Regions from separate parts of the Homo sapiens genome. Here all the other regions are linked to region 3. Evidence: promoter capture Hi-C in human tissues and cell types (Jung and others, 2019). All regions are on one chromosome and are shown on one strand. The core of a region is centred on a gene start or on the middle of the fragment in contact, and the rest is flanking DNA. Distances in the headings are between cores, read along the strand shown.

Region 1 (4,274 bases), core at 110-2,609, 200 kb after region 3:
CAAGTGCCTCGCCTAAGGTCATGCAGCTTGGCCAAATCCAAACCCTTGGGTGAGTGGACAGAGGAGCGTCAGCTAGGAGAGGTGGGCGCTGGTCTTACTGGGGAGGAGGGGCCTGCCCCCTGGACTGCTGCCCTGACCTCAGCCCCATCCCATTCTGCCTAGCCCCTTGCTGGGCACTTCCCTCCCCAGGGACAGCCACAGAAAAATGATGATCTCGGCTGGGCGTGGTGGCTCACGCCTGTAATCCCAGCACTTTGGGAGGCCGAGGCAGGTGGATCACCTTAGGTCAGGAGTTCGAGACAAACCTTGCCAACATGATGAAACCCCGTCTCTACTAAAAATACAAACATTAGCTGGGCGTGGTGGTGTGTGCCTGTAGTCCCGGCTACTTGGGAGGCTGAGGCAGGAGAATCACTTGAACCCGGAGGCGAAGGTTGCAGTGAGCCGAGATCAAGCCGCTGCACTCCAGCTCTGGGCAACAGAGCAAGACTCTGCCTCGAAAAAAATAAATAAATAAGAAAGATGATCTCAGGGTCCCTACCCTAGGAGTCAGATGCACGGTGGGGCCATTCCTAGCGCTGCCTGCCCTGGACAGCGCCTGTCTATGCCTGTGGCCCAGCATCATTATGAGGAGTGCTCCCTTGACTCTGGCTGTCCTGATTTGGACACTAGACTTCATGGTCACCCTGGCCACAGGTACCCTATCCTGCATCCTGAGCTCCGCTCTTCCTGGAGTCATGGGCTGGTCTTTCCTCCTGGTGGCCTTGCGCCCCAGCTCCAGCTTCCTGACTTTTCTCTTCTGGAAATGGGAATGCCAAGTCCTATTTCATGGAGTTTTGAGAATGAAATGACTGGTGTACGGTGCAAAGTGCCTGTGAGTGCCCAAGAAATCTCTTTTATTAACAAGACACGAATTCATTCCAATTGATTTGACGGGCCACTGTTGTCACAGCAGCCGCACTGCCCCAAAGGCAGCAGTGATGTTTGAGCGCCGACTCCCCGACGGCACTTGGTCCTCACAACCACCCCATGGAGTTCATGCTAAGATCCTCGCATTTCATTTGTGTGGCAGGGACTTGCTGAGGTCCGGGGAGGGGCAGAGAGGAGGGGTGCGGCCGCCCCGCGCTTTGCACTTTCCGCGTCCTCCAGCAGAGGGGTCGGCCGGCGGGCTCAGCGTCCCGCATAATAGCCGCTTTGAAGCCCGCGGAGCGGGTGGCGGGAGGGGAGGGGAGAGGCGGGAGGGGAGGGGAGAGGCGGGAGGGGAGGGGCGAGGCGGGAGGGAGGGAGGGAGGGGCCGGCAGCGGAGGGAGGGGTGTGTCGGCCGCCCGCGCCGTTCCTCCGCCCCTCGGTCCCGCGGCCACACGCAGCTAGCCGGAGCCCGGACCAGGCGCCTGTGCCTCCTCCTCGTCCCTCGCCGCGTCCGCGAAGCCTGGAGCCGGCGGGAGCCCCGCGCTCGCCATGTCGGGCGAGCTCAGCAACAGGTTCCAAGGTAGGCGCCGCCGTCCCCGAGCAGCCACCTGTGCGCGCCGGGCGGACCGCGGGGTCCACCGCGCGCGGGAAGCGGGCGGGGACGGGGGCGCGTGGCCCGAAGAGGACCCCGCTTCCCAGGCCGCCTCTTTGTCTCCTCCAGGAGGGAAGGCGTTCGGCTTGCTCAAAGCCCGGCAGGAGAGGAGGCTGGCCGAGATCAACCGGGTAAGCCCCGCGCCCAGGGCAGCACGCGAGTCCCGAGCCGCGCGCTGCGCGGGTGCCACCTCTCCTTCCGCGAGGCCGTGCCCGCCTCCAGATCTACCCTCTTCCTTCCCTTCCCCTGGGCTTCCCTCAGGTGCCTCCCTCCGCCCCCAGCCCCGTCGCCTCCGACTCCAGGTAGGTCCGCCTCCGCCTCCCGCCTCCGGTCTCGGGTTGCAAGTTGTTACTCTTGCAACTGGGGACTGGGGAGGTGGGGCCGGGTCAGGAGCTCGGATGCCAGCCGGCTCGTGGCTCCCCGCAAGCCCGCTTGGGAGCAGCCCAAGGATTTGGCGCGGGAAGGGCCCTAGGCCAGTGATCTCTCCAGCTCAGAACACAGGCTCCGGGTCATTTGCTGGTCTGTCGCCCAGGCTGGAGTTCGGTGGCCCAATCTCAGCTCATTGCAGCCTCCACCTTTGGGATTCAAACGGTCCTCCCTCCTCATCCTCCCGAGTAGCTGGGACTACAGGCATGTGCCCCCACGCCTGGCCTTAGCTATTGTTGTTATAAGGGATTCAAAAGTACAAATAGAAGACTCTGATGGGCGTAGAGATCCTGGCACTTCCCCGTGGTCTCCAGCCTCCCGCCTCCCTCAAACACACCACTCCTCTTCACTCCAACTTTCAGGAAAGATTGCCTTAAGGGATTCAATGCTTTTCTTGCTGGTCCTGGTGGATTTCTCAAAAGAAATCTTTCCTGTTGTTGCCAGGCATCCAGTGAGAGCTCCATAAATTTACATAGATTCTAGAAGATAAGGAAAGATATCAGGACCTGTCTGGGTTGGCCAAAGCTCAAAGGCAGCACAGCCAGTGGCTTTAAAGTTCTGCAAGACCTGGGCTCAGATCTGGCCTCCACTGTGTGCCAGCTCTGTGGTCCTCAGCAAAGGGCCTCTCATCTCCAAGCAGGGCATTGTGCAGGCTCAGAGAGGGAAGGCCCGTGGCCTGCATGGCCCAGCACCCAGCATTCAGGAAGCACTCACAGAACTAGCATTATTTCCTGAGGTGGATGTCTCCCAGTTTCCTTCTTAACTGGTGGCAGAGGCACGCCCGCTGAAACAAGGCTTGGCATTCCCCCTGCAGGCTCCTCTGGTCCCCTGGACACCCAGGGTCTAAGCCCAGCTGACAGTCTGGAAGTGGGCCGCTGGTGAGGTCAGCAGAGCCCGAGAAGGCTGTGGGAGGCGGGTCCGAGCCTGGGGCCAGGTTGTGGTATTGCCTCTTGCCAGCAGTGTGCAGCCTTGATTCCCCCTTGGTTTTCTTGGACTGCTTGGATGTAGGCAGCCTGTCTGTTTTCCATCCGCTGGCTACAGGACTCCCATTCGGTCCCCAGCTACAGGGCTCTGGGGACCTCAGGGTTCCCCCTCCAGGTAAGCTCCGGCCTCCTCACCGCCACCCTCACCCTGCTTCCTGGGGGCATCTTGAGCACAACTGGAAGGTTGCCCGGACATCTGGCTGGGGTGCTCAGGGGTCTCGGATCCCTGCTGGGCTCCTTCCCAGATCACTGTGTGCCTGCCCAGCCTGGGGCTTGGCTGCTCTAGCCCTCTGGACAGAAGGCTGGAACCCCGACCTCATATAGCCCCCTGGGTCACTTGGCCAGGCGGGTTCTGAGCTGGCTGGAGCCACCCACAGCCAGCGGGACCCTGAGCCACAGACAGCTGGAGATGGGGGTGAGGTGACCATGGTTGGACAAGCCAGAAGAGCTAAGAGGGCGGGGCCAACCTAGCCCTTGGGGAGGTGGGTTGGGGGAGGGGGCGGCTCCAGGGTTGTTTTGGGAAACCGACTAGCTTGGCTTAGAAAGAGGAGGGACTTTAACAGCTGTCAGGGGCTGATCTGGGCAGCACTGGGACTAGGGAAAGTGAGCAGGAAGGAGCTGTGGTCTAACCACCTCAGGACAGCGCCCAGAGAGGGCAAGCAGCTGACCCAAGGCCACGCAGAAGCCAGTGACAGAGCTTGCAGCCCAGCGTCCTTCCCCTGCCAAGACGCTGTACTGAGACCCACCATGACAGCCCAGCCGCTGTAGGGCTGCTGAGGCCCAGGATCTGGGGCCCTGTAGGAAGGAGGCGCCAGGATCACACGGGAAGCTTGAGCTGCTTCACCACAGTGGAGCAGGGTGGCCCCACCAGTTTAGTCATGAGGTACCCACAAGCACTGATCTGTGACTCTGGGCAAGCCACTCACCTCTCTGAGCCTCCTTCTCCAAAAAGATAATGGTTGTGATTTTTTCAGTGAGACAATCTATGTAAAGCACCCAGGAGAGCTGGCTGCGGCCCTGATAGCTATCAGGACAGTTTCTTTGTTCGTGGCCTCAAGGTGCAGGGAGTGGAAGATACTCCGCCCTGGCTCATGCTGGTTGCTCAGCCCAGCAGAACCTCGTCTTCCCCAGCCTGAAATGGGAGCAGGGATCTCTGCCCCTCTGGAGTCCCTGCAACAATTAACCGATGGAAGTGGATGGAAGCTCTTTGCAGACTGTGGGGGAGTCACTCTGTGTGAGAGTCTGAATTGGTTCACCCACGGCCATGGGGGCAGTGCAGAGGGCCTGAGCTAGGTGGATTGTAG
Region 2 (4,187 bases), core at 1,187-3,686, 170 kb before region 3:
TACAAGGGAAAAGAGGAAACCATGTTATTAAATATTTCATGCACCATATGTTCCTTTCAAATTTCAGTGGCTTGACTAAGAAAATTCACTTTTGGGAGAGTTGGTACAACAATTGAAAGCACTTAGTAGTCAACTTTTTCCTTAGTGTTTCCTTCTTCCTTCAACAAACATTTATTTTATTGAGCACAGACTATGACAGGTCGTGTTGTAGTCACTGATGATATATTTGTAAACAAAACAATCCCTGCCCTCCTAGAACTTACATTCTAGTGGGAGGAGACACATCATAAATAAGCTAAGTAAATAAAATACAGATATGTTAGTGATATGTGCTGAGGAGAAGAATAACATAGAGAAGGGGACAGGGAATGGGGTAGGAGGTGTAATTTTAGTTAGGGTGGCTAGAGAGGCCTGACTGAGAGGGCGGCATTTGATTAAAGACCCGAAGGAGGAAGATGAGCAGCAGGCCCTGTTGAAATATGTGAAAGAATTTCAGGCCGAGGGAACCAGGATGCAGAAACCTGAGGCAGAGCTTGCTAGTTTCAAGGAGCAGCCTAGAGGCCACTGCACCAGAGCAAAGAGCAAAAGGAGAGATGCAGGAGGTAAAATGGAGGGTGGGAAGAGAATGGCTGAAGGAGAGGGTGGCCTTATTGGCCCATTTCAAGGATTTTGACTTTGATTCATATGATGTGGGAAGGCCTTGGAGAATTTTCCGAGGGGACTATACTATCTGATGTATGTTTCAGTATGAAATAGAATCTCTCTGGCTGCTATGATCTGAAGGAGGACAAGGGAGCAGGGATTCCACGGGGGCATTGATTGCACAGAGCCAGGTAAGAGTGATGATGCTTGGACCAAAGTGGTGGCACTGGGTGGAGGGTCAGAACCGACAAGATTTGCTCTCGGATTAGATGTGGGATATGGGGGTGTGAGAGGGGCCAAGTGTGACTCTCAGGTTTTCGAACTGAATAACTGGAAGAATAGAGTTGCCTTTTATTGAAATGAAGGTCGAGGCTGCAGTGGTAAGCTGTGATTGCGCCACTGCACTCCAGCCTGGGCAACAGAGCAAGACCCTGTCTCAAAAAAAAAAAAAATATTTACCATCAGGTAAAACCACTTATGGTTCTCAAAACTTTATTTAAAATAATAGACACTTGATAAATCAACACTGTAGGCCGGGCGCTGTGACTCACGCCTGTCATCCCAGCACTTTAGGAGGCCAAGGCGGGCGGATCACTTGAGGTCAGGAGTTCGAGACCACCCTGGCCAACATGGTGAAACCTCGTCTCTACTAAAAATACAAAAATTAGTCGGCATGGTGGCACACACCTATAGTCCCACCTACATGGGAGGCTGAGGCAGAGGGATCACGTGAACCTGGGAAGCAGAGGTTGCAGTGAGCCAAGATCATGCCACCGCACTCCAGCCTGGGTGACAGAGCAAGGCTCTGTCTCAAAAAAACAAAACAAACACTAATTCTCATTACTCTTAAAATTATACTAAGGCCAGGTGCGGTGGCTCATGCCTGTAATCCCAGCACTTTGGGAGGCCAAGGCAGATGGATCACTTGAGCCCAGGAATTCAAGACCAGCCTGGGCAACATGGCGAAACCCCATCTCTACTAACAGTACAAAAAATTAGCTGGGCGTGGTGGTACACGCCTGTAATCCCAGCTACTCAAGAGGCTAAAGTGGGAGAATCACCTGCGCCTGGGAAGCCAAGGCTGCAGTGAGCTGTGATGGTGCTATTGCACTCCAATCTGGGTGACAGAGTGAGACCCTGTCTCAAAATAAAATAAAATAAAATTATACTAAGTATCTGTATACATTAGAAGGTGGGAGGAAGTGCAATTATTGGATCCTATAGGCATTAAAGTTAAATTTGTCAGGTTTTTTTTTGTTTTTTTTTTTTTTTTTGAGACAGAGCCTTGCTCTGTTGCCCAGACTGGAGTGCAGTGGCACAATCTCAGCTCATTGCAACCTCCACCTCCCGAGTTCAAGCGATTCTCTTTCCTGCCTCAGCCTAATTTTTTGTATTTTTATTAGAGACGGGGTTTCACCCTGTTAGCCAGGATGGTTTTGATCTCGTGACCTCATGATCTACCTGGCTCGACCTCCCAAAGTGCTGGGATTTCAGGCGTGAGCCACCGTGCCTGGCTATCCGATTCTCAAAGAGGTTATTTGGACAGGCTGGGCGTGGTGGCTCACGCCTGTAATCCCAGCACTTTGGGAGGCTGAGGCGGGTGGATCACCTGAAGTCAGGAGTTCGAGACCAGCCTGACCAACATGGTGAAACCCCATCTCTACTAAAAATACAAAAATTAGCAGGGCATGGTGGCATATGCCTGTAATCCCAGCTACTCAGGAGGCTGAGGCAGGAGAATCGCTTGAACCTGGGAGGCAGAGATTGCAGTGAGCCAAGATCACACCACTGCACTCCAGCCTGGGCAACAGAGCGAGACTCCATCTCAAAAAAAAATAAAAAGGTTATTTGGAAAGATTATATCCATCTACTTAATGCTAGGGATTGGATTGTGGCACGTGGACTGTGAAAATGCAAAATTGGAGGTATGTACTTTATTTTAGAGACAGGGTCTTGCTTTGTCACCCAGGCTGGAGTGTAGTGGCACAGTCATAGCTCACTGCAGCCTTGAACTCCTGGGCTCCAGTGATCCTCTTGCCTTAGCCTCCCAAAGCAATGGGATCGTACAGGTGAGCCATTGCACCTGGCCATGTATGTACATTTTTTATAAGCATTCAGTTGTTTCCAATAGTCTAATACATTTTGTATGGCCTTCTTATTTTTCATGAAACCTTACTACCCATTTTAAGAAATTTGTAATATAGAAGAAAACAGAAGTTTCAATTGTGGGGTAAGTAAAGAAAGATGATCAAAGATGATTTGACCAAAAGAGTTTTACTTCATTTAAATGAAGCATGTTGTCAAAGAAAATGAAAGTGGGAAAAAATGTGAAATCATTTTGTATCAGTTCAGGACAGAACCGTGCTTGTGCTTCAGATCTCCAAGTGTGAACACACTGATGTGTTGTGAAGTGTGTTGCAAATAGAAGCATTTTTTGAATGGGAGGGAGAGGGATGTGTTAACATGATTTAGCTGGGAATTAAACCCATAGGAATGTGTCGGGCATATTTTCTGTGACTAGGGGGTAAAAAGATTAAAATGGCTACTGAGGATGGGCTTCAGTAAGAGGAGGTCTCCCGAAGGCCTTCTCTGCCCTGTGCCTCTGCAGTTCCCTGACTCCTTGCTGTGTTCGTCCCTGCCTTTTTGGTAGTTGTGCCCCTGATGTCACTCCCCTGTGTGTTCAGATCCTACCTGCTGGCCAGGTGCAGTGGCTCACACCTGTAATCCCAGCACTTTGGGAACCCAAGGTGGGACGGTCCTCTGAGACCAGGAGTTTGAGAGAGTGGCCTGGACAACATAGCAACACCCTATTAGTACTAAAAATAAAAAAGTTAGCTAGGCATAATAATGTCCTGTGCTTGTCTAGCTACTTGGGAGGCTGAGGCAGAAGGATTACTTGAGTCCAGGAGTTCGAGGCTGAAGCAAACTGTGATCATATCATTGTACTCCAGCCTGTGTGATAAAGCAAGACCCTATCCTTTAAAAGTAAAAAACAAACAAACAAACAAAAAACAAACCTGCTTAACCTTTCAACACTCTCTTCCAGTCCCCCCTCCCTTCTGAAACCATATTTTACATCTCTGGTCCTCATTAAATTTTCTGTAACTTCTGCCCTTGTAACTCTTCTGCAACACAAATGAATACATAATCATATACTTCCTAGTAGTATTTCCTAATAGTTTTATGTGAGTTTCATGGAAGAGAGTGTTGAAACGTAGGTAGGTTTGTTTTTTATTTTTTAACTTTTTTTTAACTTTTTTTTTTGAGATGGAGTCTCGCTCTGTCACCCAGGCTGGAGTGCAGTGGCGCGATCTTGGCTCACTGCAAGTTCCGCCTCCTGGGTTCATGCCATTCTCCTGCCTCAGCCTCCCGAGTAGCTAGGACTACAGGCGCCCGCCACCACACCTGGCCAATTTTTGTATTTTTAGTAGAGACCAGGTTTCACCATCTTAGCCAGTATGGTCTCGATCTCCTGACCTCGTTATCCACCTGCCTTGGCCTTCCAAAGTGCTGGGATTACAGGCGTGAGCCACCATGCGTGGCCT
Region 3 (4,656 bases), core at 2,157-4,656:
CCTTCCAAGGCGTCCTGGCCCTTCACCGCCGACCGAAGCGGAAGCTGAAGCCGCCTTTCTTCCTGCTGTAGCCATTGAGCTCCTCAGCCAGGTTCCCTAACGGGCCGCTGGTCTTCTCCCCCGCAGCAGGGAGGAAGCCGGTGGCCTCACTGCCTTCGTCCTGCCTCCCGAAGCGGAATCTGCAGCCAGCATGCTCTCTGCCCGATGTCTGCAGCCCCCTGGCTATGACAAGCAGGGCCTGTGGCTGTGAAGCTCTCAGCCACCGAGAGGAACCCCACACGGAGTGGGGTCGGGGCCCCATGGCCAGGTCGGCCCAGCGTTCTCCAGCTCCGAGGCCACCCATGGCGTCTGTGGGCTCTCTTCTGTCCAGTAGAGGGAAGCAGGCGCCCAGCGGCAGGAAGAGGAAGTAGATCAGGGGGTAAGGCCTTACCATCTGACCCAGAGGAAAGAGAGGCAGAGTGACAGGCTGCACACGTGGCCAAGCGCAACTCACCAAAATGTTTCCCCGGGACAGGCTGGCAGCGTAGATGTGAGCAGGGGGCTCAGCTGAGCCCGGCTTCCGAGCAGTGCTGGGACTAGGCCACTGTTTTATTAGCAGGATCAGGAGGTGATTGTGCCAGTTAGGCCGGTTCTTCTCCTGCAGTCCCCACGATCTGCGTGCCTGGGCAGCTTAGCACCGTAAATCCACCGCTGCTGGCTGGCAGAGCAGTGCCCAGGCGGCCCCGGGAGAGTCAGCAAATGTATGCTCATTTTTCTCTTATTATAAAATGGCCATATCATTGCAGAGCCATGGGGTGGAAAGTTAAAAGCATCAATCTCCCTTAGTGTTCAACTGGATAATAAATGGGTCTAGCTATGCTGTTTAGCTGGGACATCCTGCTAATGTCTCTTTCACGTGGGAACGAGTTGCTCCTGAAAGCCAGAAACAGATTGGATGGTCCTGGCCTAATTCGGACACCCACCTGGGAAGGAGTGTGTGGACACCACTGGGGCCTGGGCACCGTAGGTCTGCCAGGCTCTGAGCCAAGAGCTCACACATGTGATTGTACTTCATCTTCATAGTACTCCTGCTTGGTAGGTCCGGCCAGTCCCACTTTTTCAGGCAACAAAACTGTCAGAAAAACTGAGATTGTGCCCAGGCCACACAGCCAGAAAGTGGAGGCTCTGGATTCATGATTCTAATGGCCAGACGGCTTCTTCAAGAAGCATACATATCTGCTAGGTACTCCCAACCCTCCTATTTCACAGGGGTGGTGTCGGTCTCAAACAGCTGAGGTGACTTGCCCCAGATCTCATGGCCTTATCAGTGCCAGAGCTAGAGTTCAATCCCAGGTCTAACTGGGCTTGACTCAGGAAGGCGTGCCCTAACTCCCTCCTCTGTACTCCACATGGCACTCGGGGGATCTGAAACCCAGCCTCCTGTAATGAACCTGCCTTGGTAACACTTGCTCCCTTGTCTGGCAAAGAAAACCTTTTTGACAATGACCGCGGGGGAGCTGGAGCTGGCTTGTCCTCCGCAGAGTCAAACTGAGGCTAGACTAGAGAGCACCGGCCCTGGAGAAGACAGTACAGGAGTCCCCAGAGCCCTTTCCAGAAATGGCTCCCTCGAACACATTTCAAAGAAGCGAGCTCAGCCAGGAAGCTTTTAAAAAAATAATACATGCAACCCCACTTTCTACCCAAATCCAGTTCTTCTAAGCTTTCGTCCCCCAGGGATGGAGTGACCTCCCTCATGCTGCCAGGAAAACCTTTCCATCAGGGCGCAGGCAGAGTGGGGGCTTCCACGAGGTGACTTTCTGCAGCGGCCCAGCCCATTCCCTCCTCCCCATAGGAAGCACTTTGCTGACTGCGATGTGGACCAGGGACCGTTGCATCCTGGTGGATAAATCCACCCGGGAGTGGCCTCTGGGTGTCTAGAAAGGAGACAGCCTGACAGAGCAGGCCCTGGAGTGGCCCTTCACCCCTTTTAGGGGTTCATGCACCCCTTCAAGAATCTGGTAGAAAGTGGGGATGCTCATCACGGGACAGGCGGCCCCAGCGCGAGTCAGGGCTTCAGGCCCCACAGCCAGGAAGGGACAGGAAAAGCACGGGTGAGGCTGGGTCCCAGCCCTGGCAGGGCAGCCGTGACCAATCTGTGCTGCTCTGGGCTGTTGGCAGGGGAGGCACTGGTGTCCCCTCTCCGGGCACTCCCTCCCTGTGCTTCTGTGTGCCCTCTGACTGCCCATGCCTGGCTCCTGCCTGGGCAGGGCCTGAGCTGGGGTTCCTGCTGGGGACAGGGCAGCTATGCTCACCGTGTGGCTGGGACTGCTCCCAGGAAGGCTGGCTGGTGGATCGCTGGGCTCCGGGGCTGGGCTGGGCAGAGCTGCTCTGGGTCCTCGTCCAGGAGGCATGGCCCCTGGGCTCTCCCTGCTTTATATGGCCCGCGGTGCGCTTGCTGCTCTGCCGACTGCCTGCTGCGCATTCCTGACCCTGGGATTCCATTGGGGACGCTGTTGTTGAAGAGGGGCAGTGCTGACCGCGTTGATAAAAACAACCTCACACAGGATGTAGTCTGATGAGAGGGCAGGCGGGCTGCCCTTTGGAGGAGAGCAGACAGCATCATTAACTGCAAATTGCGGGCACAGACCCTCGAGTCCCTTGGCGGGGGTTCCAAGCCCACCCTTCACCCTAAGGGTCCTGCCTTTGCTGGGTTGGCACCTCACGCTCCGGAGAGGACATGGGGTGGGTGGACATCTACCCGACACACCTACTGCCCAGCTTGCAGGATGGCTTTCATGGGCAGGAAAGCCACAGACACCCATGAGGCCCGTGTTTCACAGGCACCGGGCTGCGCGGCTAAGCCAGGTGCACCTCCCCGGCAGGTGGAGCCCTCAGCGGCCTGTTACCCAGGAACCAACCAAGGGGGCACGGCAGATGCCCAGGACAGCAGTGGAGCATTTGCCTGTGGCCCCCAGCCCCTCCCACCGCATACCCTGGGTGGCCCCCTACTGTCACCGAGGGTCACCTCTGGGAGGCCAGCAGGAGGACCCAGCCTCTGCTCCTTGCCCGGCAGAGATTCTCCCTCCACTGAGAGCAGGCAGGGGGGTGATGAGGCAGCCCCACCCCACCACTGTCAGGAACTGAGCACAGAGGGCCTCCCCCATTCCAGGGGCCCTCACCCAGCCGACCTACCCCTGCATCCCGGCTGCTGGGGGATCAGAAGTCATGGGAATAGAGAGCCTGTGGACACTTCCCCAGAGACCTGAGGAAGGCACTGGAATCTCGATCCTCCACTTCGGGGCTGAGCGCCCAGGTTCGGGCGGAGGGTCTGCGGATTGAAGCCGATGACTGAGCTTTGCTGGCCAGAACCAGCTTCCATCCCCCAGGCCAGGGCTGCCTCCGATGGCCTGAGGTGCCCCTGTCCTGTGTGTGCATGTGTGTGTATGCCCCCACATGAGTATGTGCACACGTGCGTACACGTGTGTGTGCTCGTGAGACGGGAGGTGTGGTGTCCTTCTGTCTCCCTGGTTAGTGCTGGTTGATTCTGACAGCGGGCACCAGTTATCCATGGGGTGCCGCCCAGGGTGGGTCTCTACCGTGCTATGAGCCTGGACCGGATGCCTGCCCTCTGGGTGCCTCAGTGCTCCCTTGGTGTAAAGCGAGGTTCAAGTTCCCAAGCTGTGCTTTGCAGAATTCCTCAGGAATGGCCATGGAAGTTGGGGAAGGCAACATGGGGTCCAATCCCGCAGGCACCCCTCTCCTACAGGCACCCCACTCCCCTACAGGCTACCCCTCTGCCCTACAGGCACCCCTTTGCCCCACACGCACCCCTCTGCCCCACAGACACTCCTCTGCCCTACAGGCACCTCTCTGCCCCGCAGGCACCCCTGTGACCCACATGCACCCCTGTGCCCCGCAGGCACCCCTGTGCCCCGCACGCACCCCTGTGCCCTGCATGCACCCCTGTGCCCCGCACACACCCCTGTGCCCTGCACGCGCCCCTGTGCCCCTCAGGCCAAGCCCCACTTTGCTGTGTTTGACATGTTGAGCTCCCAGAAAAGGTTCTGCTTTGAAACCACCAGGGCCCGGAGTCCTTTTGCGGGACTGAGGTCTGTGGCTCTGAGAGGTGGTCACAGAATGTCCTGCATGTGAGGGGCTGGTCTGGGGTGGGAGCAATATTGGGGTGAGGATGAGGGGTCCCCACGTGGCCCACATGTTCCCCAGCCTCAGGTCCCCGCCTGCCCCCTTCAGACCGGGGTGCCTGGAGCCCAGTCAGGCGTTGGATTTGGTGCCAAACCTTCTGACTCCAGGGACTTGCCTGGTCCCCTCCACCCCTGGAACTCCTGGACGGAAAAATTGCTTTCAGATGCCCTTCCTGGGCCCCTGGAAGCATCTGGGTTCCCCCACCTCTTGAGCAATTGGGGGTGACAACTGTGCCACTGTTTGCCACCAGCAGCCGAGATAGGCAGGGTCTGGGCTGCCTGGATGCACAGGGTGGCCGGGGCTAGATCAGTCCAAGAGTGGCAGTACCCATCGGGGCGGCTTCCAGCGCTGGAGGCTTTTTCTGCTGTCGGGTAAATGCAGGGAGGCGAGGCGTGAGGGTGGTGGGGCTGGTGGTGCAGGAAGCCGCTCTGGGGGTGGAGTCCGTGGACCACCTCGAAGCCTGTGGGGTTCCCT

The links. The method cuts DNA at HindIII sites, captures the fragments that hold promoters and counts their contacts. A contact is called where the count stands out against the background at its distance.
Region 1: the fragment with the promoter of AIF1L here is called in contact with the fragment with the promoter of QRFP in region 3 in 2 of the 25 tissues and cell types used here (mesendoderm cells and pancreas).
Region 2: a contact is called between a fragment that was not itself captured here and the fragment with the promoter of QRFP in region 3, in 3 of the 25 tissues and cell types used here (aorta, dorsolateral prefrontal cortex and spleen).

Annotation. Positions count from the first base shown.
Region 1 is chr9:131,095,172-131,099,445 of GRCh38, forward strand. AIF1L (allograft inflammatory factor 1 like) reads left to right here and starts at 1,360. Exons shown (of 6, transcript NM_031426.4): 1 at 1,360-1,489; 2 at 1,631-1,692. The coding sequence starts at 1,459. RefSeq lists an enhancer at 1,697-2,196. The HindIII fragment of the contact is 10,554 bases long and covers 1-4,274 here.
Region 2 is chr9:130,719,924-130,724,110 of GRCh38, forward strand. It overlaps a transcript of ABL1 not described here. Among named protein-coding and RNA genes, the nearest start is that of EXOSC2, 28 kb to the left of the region's middle. The HindIII fragment of the contact is 5,418 bases long and covers 1-4,187 here.
Region 3 is chr9:130,893,406-130,898,061 of GRCh38, forward strand. It overlaps QRFP (pyroglutamylated RFamide peptide), which reads right to left and starts at 3,407. Exons shown (of 3, transcript NM_198180.3): 1 at 3,172-3,407; 2 at 2,292-2,576; 3 at 1-433. The coding sequence starts at 433. The coding sequence ends at 23. RefSeq lists enhancers at 225-739, 1,528-2,215, 2,216-2,902. The HindIII fragment of the contact is 19,380 bases long and covers 1-4,429 here.